Regions from separate parts of the Homo sapiens genome. Here region 2 is linked to region 1. The links are contacts of gene promoters, found by promoter capture Hi-C in human tissues and cell types (Jung and others, 2019). All regions are on one chromosome and are shown on one strand. The core of a region is centred on a gene start or on the middle of the fragment in contact, and the rest is flanking DNA. Distances in the headings are between cores, read along the strand shown. Region 1 holds the start of TGFA (transforming growth factor alpha). Region 2 has its middle 41 kb from the start of TGFA.

Evidence for each region. Contacts are between HindIII fragments. The study calls those that stand out against the background at their distance.
Region 2: a fragment that was not itself captured here is called in contact with the fragment with the promoter of TGFA in region 1 in 1 of the 25 tissues and cell types used here (hippocampus).

Annotation. Positions count from the first base shown.
Region 1 is chr2:70,549,828-70,555,701 of GRCh38, reverse strand. TGFA (transforming growth factor alpha) reads left to right here and starts at 1,876. Exons shown (of 6, transcript NM_003236.4): 1 at 1,876-1,974. The coding sequence starts at 1,935. It overlaps LOC124907824 (a long non-coding RNA gene), which reads right to left and starts at 2,994. Exons shown (of 2, transcript XR_007086906.1): 1 at 2,310-2,994. RefSeq lists a silencer at 1,746-1,815. The HindIII fragment of the contact is 16,400 bases long and covers 1-4,397 here.
Region 2 is chr2:70,592,547-70,597,806 of GRCh38, reverse strand. No RefSeq gene overlaps it. Among named protein-coding and RNA genes, the nearest start is that of TGFA, 41 kb to the right of the region's middle. RefSeq lists enhancers at 429-928, 929-1,430, 382-1,581. The HindIII fragment of the contact is 6,641 bases long and covers 1-5,260 here.

The DNA.
Region 1 (5,874 bases), core at 627-3,126:
AGGCTGGTCTCGAACTCCTGAGCTCAAGCAATCCACCCACCTCAGCCTCCCAAAGTGATGGTATTACAGGTGTGAGCCACCATGCCTGGCCTGCAAGTTACCTCTTGATTTAAAATATTTTCCAATCATGAAGGAAATTGACTTGATTCTGCTACTTCCCTCCACCTCTGACTTTGGGGGTAGGGGACAGATAAGCAGAAACTGCTGAACATGACCCTCAGCCGGCTGGGCAGCCATCCCTCAGCCACAGTGAGCTTGATTTGCGTGTTCCAGTAGGAAGCAAGGAGTCAGGTCCTTCTCTAGTCCTGGGGAACAGGAGAAGGGTGGGGGAACCCCTGATTCCTCCCCTTCTGTAGCCAAAGCAGACTAGTTTAGGGAGGAGACAGGGAAACCACCAGAGCAGGTCAAGATCAACCTGAAGGAAGTGGGAGTCAGGGACAACCTACTAAAGGAAGTGCATGTGTGCCTTGTACATGCATGGGGTGGACCAAGGAAAAGATTTACCCTAAAAGAACAAAGTATGCTCCGACAAATCTATTGAAAGGAATGATTTACACTGGTGCTTCCTGCCCAAATGTTGAGACCAATGGCCTGGTGCTTCCTTCTTGAAACTAGGTTGCTCTACTTACATGAAACAAACTGGGCAGAGGTCAACCGTGAGAGCCTGAGCCTCCCCAAGTAAACAGCAAAAGATTCCCCAGGCCCAACAGCCCCCACCCCCACCTTCAAGGAAAGTGGATCTACCCGGAGCACGTAGGCCAGAGGAGGCAGGAGAAGAGGGTCAGTCCGTGAGCTCCGGGTACCTGGAGAACATGAATCTCCCGGGTGTACTGTCCCCATGAGGGTCACCGAGGAACCTATGGATCTTCCACTCTTCGCCCAGAATGTCTTCCCTCTATCCCCTCCACCTCCCCAAATTCCAGCACCAGGGGCCACCTCAGAGCCACAAATCCTGAAAGGACCACCCAGGTGACTCGGGCCCACACACCCCTCTTTCGGGGTACACTTGGTGGCAGGCTAGCAGGCTTTTGGCCTCAGCTGGTGGTGCCATATAACCAGATTCGTCACAGAGACCCATTTTTTATCAGTCCCAGGCCAGAAGTACGAAGACTGATCTTAACGATGTGGCCTGCCTGGGAGGTAAGGCGGCAGGCGTTGCCAGAATTGATGGGAACTGTGGCACAGGTGGGAAACCTGGTTTAACAAATTCTTCATTGATTCAGGGGACCACTTTCCTTGAGCCAAGTCTTGGCAAGCGGCCGGCGAAACTCACAGGTCCCTTTCCTGGCTGCGTCCCCAGCCTCCAGCCTTCCCCGCCCCAGAGATGCCCCAGGAGCGGCCCCTCGGTGTAGGTAACGGGTGCCCGGGCGGCTCCGCTCCGCCGCCTAGAGCCTGGAAGCCGCCACTGCGGCCCAGGACAATCCGGCTACGCGGCCGGCGCCGACCCCGCACGCTGGAGTCCGCTGCCGCACGGCGCTGGCAGTCGGGGGTGGTGTCTGAAGTCAGGCGCTTCCTGCCTTTTCGTCGGCCCGGGTGCCCGGCTCGCGCCGCCAGGCTCTGGGATCCCAGGTCGCCCCGCCCAGCAGCCCGCGCCCTGCTCGGTGCGCTCAGCGTCCCCGCCCCTTACCCCAAACCCCCACCCTCTGTGCCCTCAGGGGGGCACCCCCATCGGGGCGGGAGGGGGGGGTCAGCTGTGCCCCGGTCGCCGAGTGGCGAGGAGGTGACGGTAGCCGCCTTCCTATTTCCGCCCGGCGGGCAGCGCTGCGGGGCGAGTGCCAGCAGAGAGGCGCTCGGTCCTCCCTCCGCCCTCCCGCGCCGGGGGCAGGCCCTGCCTAGTCTGCGTCTTTTTCCCCCGCACCGCGGCGCCGCTCCGCCACTCGGGCACCGCAGGTAGGGCAGGAGGCTGGAGAGCCTGCTGCCCGCCCGCCCGTAAAATGGTCCCCTCGGCTGGACAGCTCGCCCTGTTCGCTCTGGGTACGTACGCCGGCTGCGGCGCCCCCTGCGCCGCGCGACACCCTGCTTCCCCCGGTCCCCGCCGAGTTCCCCTTTCCGGGGGTTTCTGCGCCCGCCTGGGAGAGTGGAGAGAAGCGAGTAGTCTCAATGGGTTGGCGCCTGGGAGGCAAGGGGAGTCATTAAGAATGACAAAGAGGGGACTGTCCGGTCGAGCGCCGAGGCTTCCCCGGGAAAGTGGCTGCCTGGGCCGTGCGTGAGAACACCTGGGAAGGGGAAGCGGAGTGTGAACGGGCTTGAACTTTAATCCGCCGCAGCTGTGTGTCTGCTCAGACACATGCCTACACCTACCTGCTTACCTGGCTGCCTCCAAGCCCGGCTCAGCCGGCGTCGCTGGCGTGTAGACTGGGCCGCCTCGGAACGGGGGCCGGCGTCTAACCCTCTGGCCGGGTCTTGCCTGCGCCCCTTTGGCACCCCCTGCCCACCTCTAAGCCCCAGCGACGAGCAGAGATGTTCAAGATCGGCAGAGGCGCCCTCGATCTCTTTTCAGAGCTCTTGAGCTTTGGGGGTAGGTTTTGGATTTTTGGGCGGATTAATGGTTCCTTTAATTAACTTCCCTGGGAGAAGTGGTTTCGGTGTCCGCCGAGGGCAGGAGCGAAACCCTAGACCGAGTGTTGCCAGTTTCCTTTGAGTATGTCCTTGGAAATGAAGGAGGGATGGGAAAGGTGAGGGGAAGTTAAACCCCTCTCCCGGGTCGGGTCTGCGGAGCGGTGCGTTTTTTGGCGGTGAAGTTCAAGGGTCTGTCTGGACGCGGTGAGGGCGCAGCGCCGCGCGCCTCCTGGCCAATTCTTGCCCCTTGTGCTGGTGGGTCTCTCTGGTGTTGAGATAGCTGATCAATAGCGCAGGTGTCCTGGTTATTGCTAGTCTTCCGTGAAGTGAATTGTTCGTTCGATATGCCCCGAGTTTAACCCGTATAGCATGCGGCTCGCTGCAGGGTGGTTAGAGTCTGTGGAAAGCCATGGAACTCCTCCCCAGAAATGCCCAGAGCCGCAGCCTCACCCAGCTCCGTGTACAACTACAGGGGGTTCGCGGCCCCGCCTGCAAGCCTGCCCTAGAAACGCTGATTAAAAACCGCAGCAGAAGGGGAGGCATCCTGTAAGAGAAATACAAGGCAGTCTTGGAACCGGATGCTCCCAGCTACACCCTTACCTGAAACTCACCAGCAGGTAACATGGGTATGGGAGGCTTTTCCCCCACATTTTTGAAGAATTGCCTTTTTTGTGTGCATGTATTGACTGTTGCTCTGATTTAAATTTTAGAAAAAGCAATAAAACATTACCAATACAAGGGAAGCTTCCTGGATATAATTATCCCTTGTAATGTTTTTGCAAATAATAGTAGTAAGTAGTAGTAGTAATAACAGCTGATGCTATTCGAGCATTTTACTCTGTGTCAGACACAGTCCAAGTGCTTTACATTTATTCATGCAGTTTTCACACCAACCGGATAAAGAAGGTGTTAATATTATTCTCATTATATAGCAGAGGAAAGTAAAGCACACAGGGTCCACAGTAAGTAACTGGACCAGGATTGTCGAAGAACGTGGAAGGAATGTGAATATGAAAAGTCACCTAACTTGTGGTCATTATAGTCCCATCTCTCTTTTGGGACTTTGCCTTAAAGAGAGATTATGTGGAATACCCTGGAACTTGTTGTTAAATTGAGTTTCCTATTGAATTCCTGGGATCTCAAGGTGGTTATTCGGTAAAAATTAGAGGCAGGAAATGATGAAGATAAGCACATTTGAGTAAGTGTTTGAAAGCTGTCCCTACACCCCACACTCCCATCCCAGAATTCTCGCCCACAAAGACTGCATTCATTCATCATGTAATTTTTCTCTTTTGCCTGAATGTTCTTTTCAGCTTGATCTTTGTTTCCTTCTTTAAGAAAATGATGTATAAACTTTAAAAGATTGATCAATATGTAAAAACTTGCTCACACAGTTCCAAAATGTGAGCAGTTGAAAAAAGTGGAGAAAAAAAAAAGGCAGGAGTAATTTACACCAGTGAGGACTCCTTTTTATTTATATGTCTTTAAAAGAAAAATCACAGCTGTGAGTTCTGTGCGTTTACTAGAACTGCTGCCTCCCACATATAGCTTTACTTTGCACATTTCCTTCAAAGCTGCTTTCCCCTCTGATTTTTCTTAAATAGTTGAAGGCAGTTCCAGGAGAATCAACCAGTGTTCCATCGCTACCCGAGATCTAGGAAACCTCCGTGGGGCTAGTCTGAGAAGGAACTGGCTGTTAGGAGTCTCGGTTAATGTTTGATTACTTGGAACCTGAGCATTGATTAATGTTTTCAGTAAGAGAATGTGAAGACTGTTGCCCAAATGGCAACACTGGAAACATAACCCAGGTTCCTGTGGTGGCTGCCCTCCCATGTCAGGTTTCCATCACTGGCAGGCAGACCGCACGGGGGCTTGGCATTTCCAGTTACATTTCCTCCTCTGTGTTCACGGAGCAAGATGTGTGATCTTGGGCAAGTTACTTAGCTTTTCTATGCCTTGTTTTTCTCACCTGCAAAATGGGGATATTAATAGGGTTGTTGAATATATTTAATGTATGCAGAAGGGTGCCTGGTATGTAGTAAGATCTTAATCTTATCATCATCATCATTGTTGTTGTTACTTTGGGCCCCATAGAATTCCAGACATCATTGCAGGTTATGTGAGTTGTATAACTGGGAGAGTTTGTAGGTTTTCGTTTATCTCATCTCCATGCTCTTTACCATTCCTTCGAAAAATATCACCCAACCTAAAAACCTACCTAGGTAATTTCTGGTGAATATGATTTGGCCAATGACAAATTCAAGCAAATCTGGAGGGTTTTTTTGTTTTGTTTTCTTTTGTTTTTTTGGTTTTTTGTTTTTTGAGACGGAGTCTCGCTCTGTCTCCCAGGCTGGAGTGCAGTGGCGCGATCTCGGCTCACTGCAAGCTCCGCCTCCCGGGTTCACGCCATTCTGCCTCAGCCTCCCGATTAGCTGGGACTACAGGCGCCCGCCACCACGCCCGGCTAATTTTTTAAATATATTTTTAGTAGAGACGGGGTTTCACCGTGTTAGCCAGGATGGTCTGCATCTCCTGACCGCGTGATCCACCCACCTCAGCCTCCCAAAGGGCTGGGATTACAGGCGTGAGCCACCGTGCCCGGCCCTGGAGGTTCTTTTAGACATCATGAATTCTTTAATTCTTTTTAATTTAATCTTTTTTAATTTTAATTATTTAATTATTTAATTTTTTATGCAAATTTTTTGTATCTCCTTTAGTATTCAACGATCAGTTGTTTATGGAAGTTAGCACTAAGTTCCAGTTTTGTCATCTGTAAAGTGGGAATAATAAAACTGTGCCCACCTCACAGGCTGTTGTAAGACTCAAATGAGATGGTAAATATGGAAGCTATTTATAAAAAAAAATAAGGACTGCACACAAAATGCAACTGATCTTATGATACAAAAATGGATTTTATAATCCAGAGATAAGCTTTATTATTTTTATGGCAACTCCCGTAAGTAAGGACCGAATGTGGACCTAAAGAATGATGTCATAGGAAATGAAGTAGCATTAAGGATGGGCAGAGGCGAAATAGATCACCTTCCCTGTTTAAGTCAGGACTGAGGGACCAGTACGGGAACTGAAAGAAGACGTTTCTTTTCTCTATTACCTGGACGTGATGTCTTTCAGAGTAGACAGTGGAGGTTTTCCTAGGACACATGTTTTCCGTATTGGGCAGCCATAATTAGGGAGTGTTCACTTAGAACATGGGCTGTAAAGCTGTATATGGAAGCCTTAGAGGCTGAGTTTTCCATATTTGCTTTTCCAGATTTTGGGTTCCTCAGGATAAAGTGATCTTTCTATAAATACTCA
Region 2 (5,260 bases), core at 1,798-4,297, 41 kb before region 1:
CAAAGAAATGGAGGAAATACTGGAGGGATTTAGGTATAGGGCACTCACCATAAGAAACTGATGAGAAATCAAAGTTCGGGCATAACAAGAATTGCTTAGAAAGGATTTTAAGAGATATTTTTGTCTGACGTGCTATGTAATCCTCTCTTCTGGGTTTACAAGAAGTAAAGACCTGCATTACTTATCAATCTTTCTTTTTTCTTTTGAGGTGGGCTTGTGTTTATTGGGATGTGATACCATAGTGAGGGTCTACAGGGCAGACTGGAATGTTCACATCATATTTGGTAAGGTTTGTCTGGGGTTTCAACCTGAGTATGCTTCAGGTAACTGATCCCCCCAGAACTGTGACAAGAATGAGCTTTCGGGTTGACCATCTAGTTGTTATGCTCATAGTACAAGGGAAAGGAAGTTGGCCCAACAGGAGTTATGTGATCCTTGCAAAGTCACCTTCAAAAAGAGGGAAATGGTGGGGTCTGTTCCAAAATCAGAATTAGAGCCATGAGGGCATGGAATGTTAAGGGCCCCGGTGTGTGAAATGGAGAATCACACTTACGCTGCTTTACGTAAGCCAGACTGAGAGGCTAAGGAAGCCTTTCTGCAGTACAGGCTGGGATTCAGTATTTATTATAGAATCAACATGTACAAATACACAATTTCTGCAGATATTGGGAATTTCATGGATGAGGACGTCAGTAGCAGACATGCCTGGGCATGTTCTGAATCCCTGTCTGGCCACTGGAGAGCAGAGGGGTCACTGAAGGACCAGCAATCAAGCAGACCACCTGCTACCACGCACGTCCGGTCTGTGGTTAGACACCCTCCAAATGCCACAGGGGTGGCAGATCCTGGAGGCTGTAAATTGAAGAGGTTAGACGGTTGCATGGCCCAGCCCTAGTAATTACTGTGGGCATAAAGCCACAAAGACCAGCTCTGTGGCAGAATGCTTGCCAGCCCTAGAAAGGCTCTACAGCAGAGTGGAGACGTGCTGGAATTCAGAGTTCACCACAGCGTGTCAAGGGGAAGGGAAGTTGGGAACAGCATGTGTGATCAGGACCTAAGGACTTCTGCCCCAGTTCATTCAAGGGCACAGCTGAGTGCAGTTTGAAAAGGCAGAAAGAGCTGGGCACAGGTAACTGAGCAACAATGAATGGTCAAATTCATGAGCAAAATTAGATTTCCCCAGGAAGCCTGATGTCTTGTTTCTGGGGATCTAATTCAGAAAAAGGGAGAGAAAACGGCCTCCTTGGTGTGCCCCAGAGGACCTGATGGAGCTAACAGTGGGGCTGGGGCCGGAAGCGGGATGCAGACCTGGGCCCCAACAAGGATGATGCTGGTATGACTCAGTCTGCTGAGGTCAGGTCCTGGCAAGACAGGTTCCGGTGAGTGAATGAACCGATGGCAGTAGTAGATTGCTTTATGTAAGAAAATGCAGGCAGGAAAAAGATTTAAGAGGTGGTGGAAGAGGGTAGGATTTGAGCAGCGGCTGGAAGGAGAAAGAGATTCTAAGGATAATTTTAAGGAAGTACTGCTGTGTTCCAAGCCCTGTAGTGAAATCCCTCCTTGGCATCCTCAATTAGCCACCAACAAATGCCAAGGCTATTGAGAAGACTCAGCCCATTGGAGGCATAGACATGAAGGGTTTTCTTTCTTTTCTTTTTTTTCCCATATTTAAAGTATATATTTAAAGTGTACAACATGAAGATTTGATATAGGTATGTATTGTAAAATAATTACCACAATCAAGTTAATTAACATATCCATCCCTCAAATCACATAGTTTCCCTTTTTAATTTTTGTTTTTTTTGGTGAGAACTCTTAAGATAAACTCTCTCTTAGCTAATTCCAAGTATATAATACAACATTATTAACTGTTGTCACCATGCTGCACATTAGATCCCCAGATCTTATTTTTTTTTAACTTTAAGTTCTGGATACATGTGCAGAACGTGCAGGTTTGTTACATAGGTATACATGTGCCATGGTGGTTTGCTGCACCTATTAACCTGTCATTTAAGTTTTAAGCCCTGCATGCATTTGGTATTTGTCCTAATGTTCTCCCCTTGCCCACCACCCCCGAACAGGCCCCGGTTTGTGATGTTCCCCTCCCTGTGTCCATGTGTTCTCATTGTTCAACTCTCACTTATGAGTTAGACCATACGCTGTTTGGTTTTCTGTTCCTATGTTAGTTTGCTGAGGATGATGGTTTCCAGCTTCATCCATGTCCCTGCAAAGGACATGAACTCATTCTTTTTTATGGTTGCATAGTATTCCATGGTGTATATGAGACACATTTTCTTTATCCAGTCTATCATTGATGGGCATTCGGGTTGGTTCCAAGTCTTTGCTATTGTAAATAGTGCTACAATAAACATATGTGTGCATGTGTCTTTATAGTAAAATGATTTCTAATCCTTTGGGTATATACCCAGTAATGGGATTGCTGGGTTAAATGGTATTTCTGGTTCTAGATCCTTGAGGAATCACCACACTGTCTTCCGCAATGGTTGAACTAATTTACACTCCCACCAACAGTGTAAAAGCATTCCTGTTTCTCCACATCCTCTCCAGCAACTATTGTTTCCTTCTTTCTTTTCAAAAGGTCCCTCTTGTGGTCACTCTGTTTGGTATTGCTACTTCTCTGGCTAATACCAGTGGGTCCTCAGTGGCCCCTGAAGGTCAGCCATCCAAATGCTGTCCTCTCTTGACCCAGTGAGGCCTCCCCCTGTGCAAGTTTCCTGACACAGGTGGTCCTCCCTTCAGAAAATGCCTCAGGGGCCCCTTAACCTAAAGGCCACTCAAGCCTTGCCACCTTCTCTGGTGCCTACTGAACTGTGGGAAAATGTCATGTCTTCACTGAGCCAGAAGCGGGGTACATCTTTCAGCACCCTTCTCTCATCTCTACTGTCTCTCTGCTCCCCCCTCTCCTCTTCTCCAGGCTCCAGCAGGGTTAGAAGCTCTGTGGATCCAAAGACTCAGCAAATTTCAGAGAGAGAGAATCAGCAGGCTCCAATGTGGCTGGGGTAGGGATGGCCATGTTCTGCTGGGTCCTCTTCCGTCGGTCACCTCTAATGTGAGGTGGCCCCATCTAACTCTCCAGCCCCAGCTCCTCTGGTCCTGCCTACACAGGTGACACTTGTCCTGGTGACAGCAAAGTGCATATATTTTCTGTGCACCATGTTGTTCCACATATCCGAGTGCTTGTGCCTTTCTCCCCTACCCTGAACACCTGGAAAATGATCCTCTTTTGAGATCATATCAGACTCATCCTCTCCCACTCAGACAGAGCTAAGCATCTCTTTCCTCTGCTCCAATCCCACCCTGTGAACATACATGCTCCTAGTATGTGTCCCATCACAGTAAAACAGCACCTTTAAGTATCTAGTTCTCTCCCGTACCAAACTATGCATTCCTTGCAGACAGGAATTGGCCTTTTGATTTACATAATTTGTGCCTATGACAATTTCTGATTCTTACAAAGCAGTCAATAAGTGCTTGTTGATCAAACTAAAAAGAAGAAGGGAAAACAGACTAAATTTCTCATCTTTTACAATGAGGGGATATGTACCGCGGACACTTCAATGTTTGGGGTACAGCACCTGACACCTTCCTAGGTTCAAGGAATCAGCCACTGTGCGAGTCTTGGTGGAATGTGGGGCCAGCCTTTTAATCCCAGCACTTTGGGAGGCTGAGGCGGGCAGATCACGAGGTCAGGAGTTCGAGACCAGCCTGACCGACATGGAGAAACCCCGTCTGTACTAAAAATACAAAACTAGCTGGGCATGGTGGCACATGCCTGTAATCCCAGTTACTCAGGAGGCTGAGGCAGAAGAATCGCTTGAACCTCGGAGGCGGAGGTTGCAGTGAGCCAAGATCGTGCCACTGCACTCCAGCCTGGGTGACAGAGCGAGACTCCATCTCAAAAAAAAAAAAAAAAAAAAAAAACAACTAGAGCCCAGGTGGATGGCCTAAATTCAGCTACTAGGAAGCCCTGCCCAGGGTCTGAACCTAGAGGAAGGGAGGTGAGGAGAAGAGGCCTGTGCCCTGGGGCTGTGGGACTGGCAGCAGCAGGACTCTAAACAGCCTGCTCCACCTGCCCACTCCCCCAGCCTGGCTCTCCAGGCCTCCCACCAACTCTATGATCCACCAAGTATCCTTTCACTGAAATCATCTTCTATTCAGATTGGCGGAAGGCTTCTCTTTTTTGCCAGCAAGAGCCCCCTGACTAGGATATCCGGTACATGGGTTGACAGATACTGATTCATGCTTGACCCTGAAAAAGGTATGGAAGTATATACTTAACCTAAAGATATACATAATCTAAATATATATTTATTTATGTATACTTCAACTAAAAATAATTGTAGAATAAAATAGAATACAAAACTTGCAAATTACTTTAAAAAATCAGTATGACAAAAGATTAAAAAGAAAAGTAGAAATGCACATAAACATAAGAATAAAGAAGTTAGATCAATATCATTTCTAATAAATGTGACTGGGCTACTCTCTCCATTTGAAACAGAAGGGTTCTCAGAATTCAAAAGGCAAACTTCAAAACTATATGGTAGATTCTTGGATTGGCTTTCCTAAGATGGAATGGCTTTTCCATTCCATCCTCCTACTTGGAGGGGTTGTAAAACTAAAAATTACCTTTTTCAAAGGCCTTCCAAATGACGGTGCTAGGTGCAAATTAGGTTGGGCCAATAAGATGCATTCAAGGGAGATTTAGCAGGTGGAGGTGAAGTGGAGGCCACCTTGCTGCTGCTGGTTGACAGGAAACAGGTTTGGACAAACAAGACTATTGGTAGCAGCCAGACCTGTGTTCCAGTGCCTGGTCACCAGCTTCATGGGCTAAGAGGCAGTTGTGCTGGCAGCAGCAGCAGTAACTTCTCGACCCACGGCAGCAGATGTGGTGCTGTGAGTCCAGTGGGGGCTGCCAACCTCTTCATTCCTTCAGCCTAGCCTAATGCTTCTGTAAGCACCTAATTCCTTATATTAAATCCCTTTTCACTTAAAACACATAAGGGGTTTTCTGTTTCCTCCACAGAAATCTGAGTCATATACAGTGTTTACAAATGGCAGGCCTAAAATAAAGTGACCCACAAAGCTCCTCTTTAAAAGGATGTACAAAAATATAGGACATAAATGAAAATAAGACAAAGCAACAACTGAAGTAGGAATGACAATGTTAATAGTGAACAAAGAATTCAAGAAAAAAACATATGGAATATTATATCAATACAAGATGCAATTCACAAAG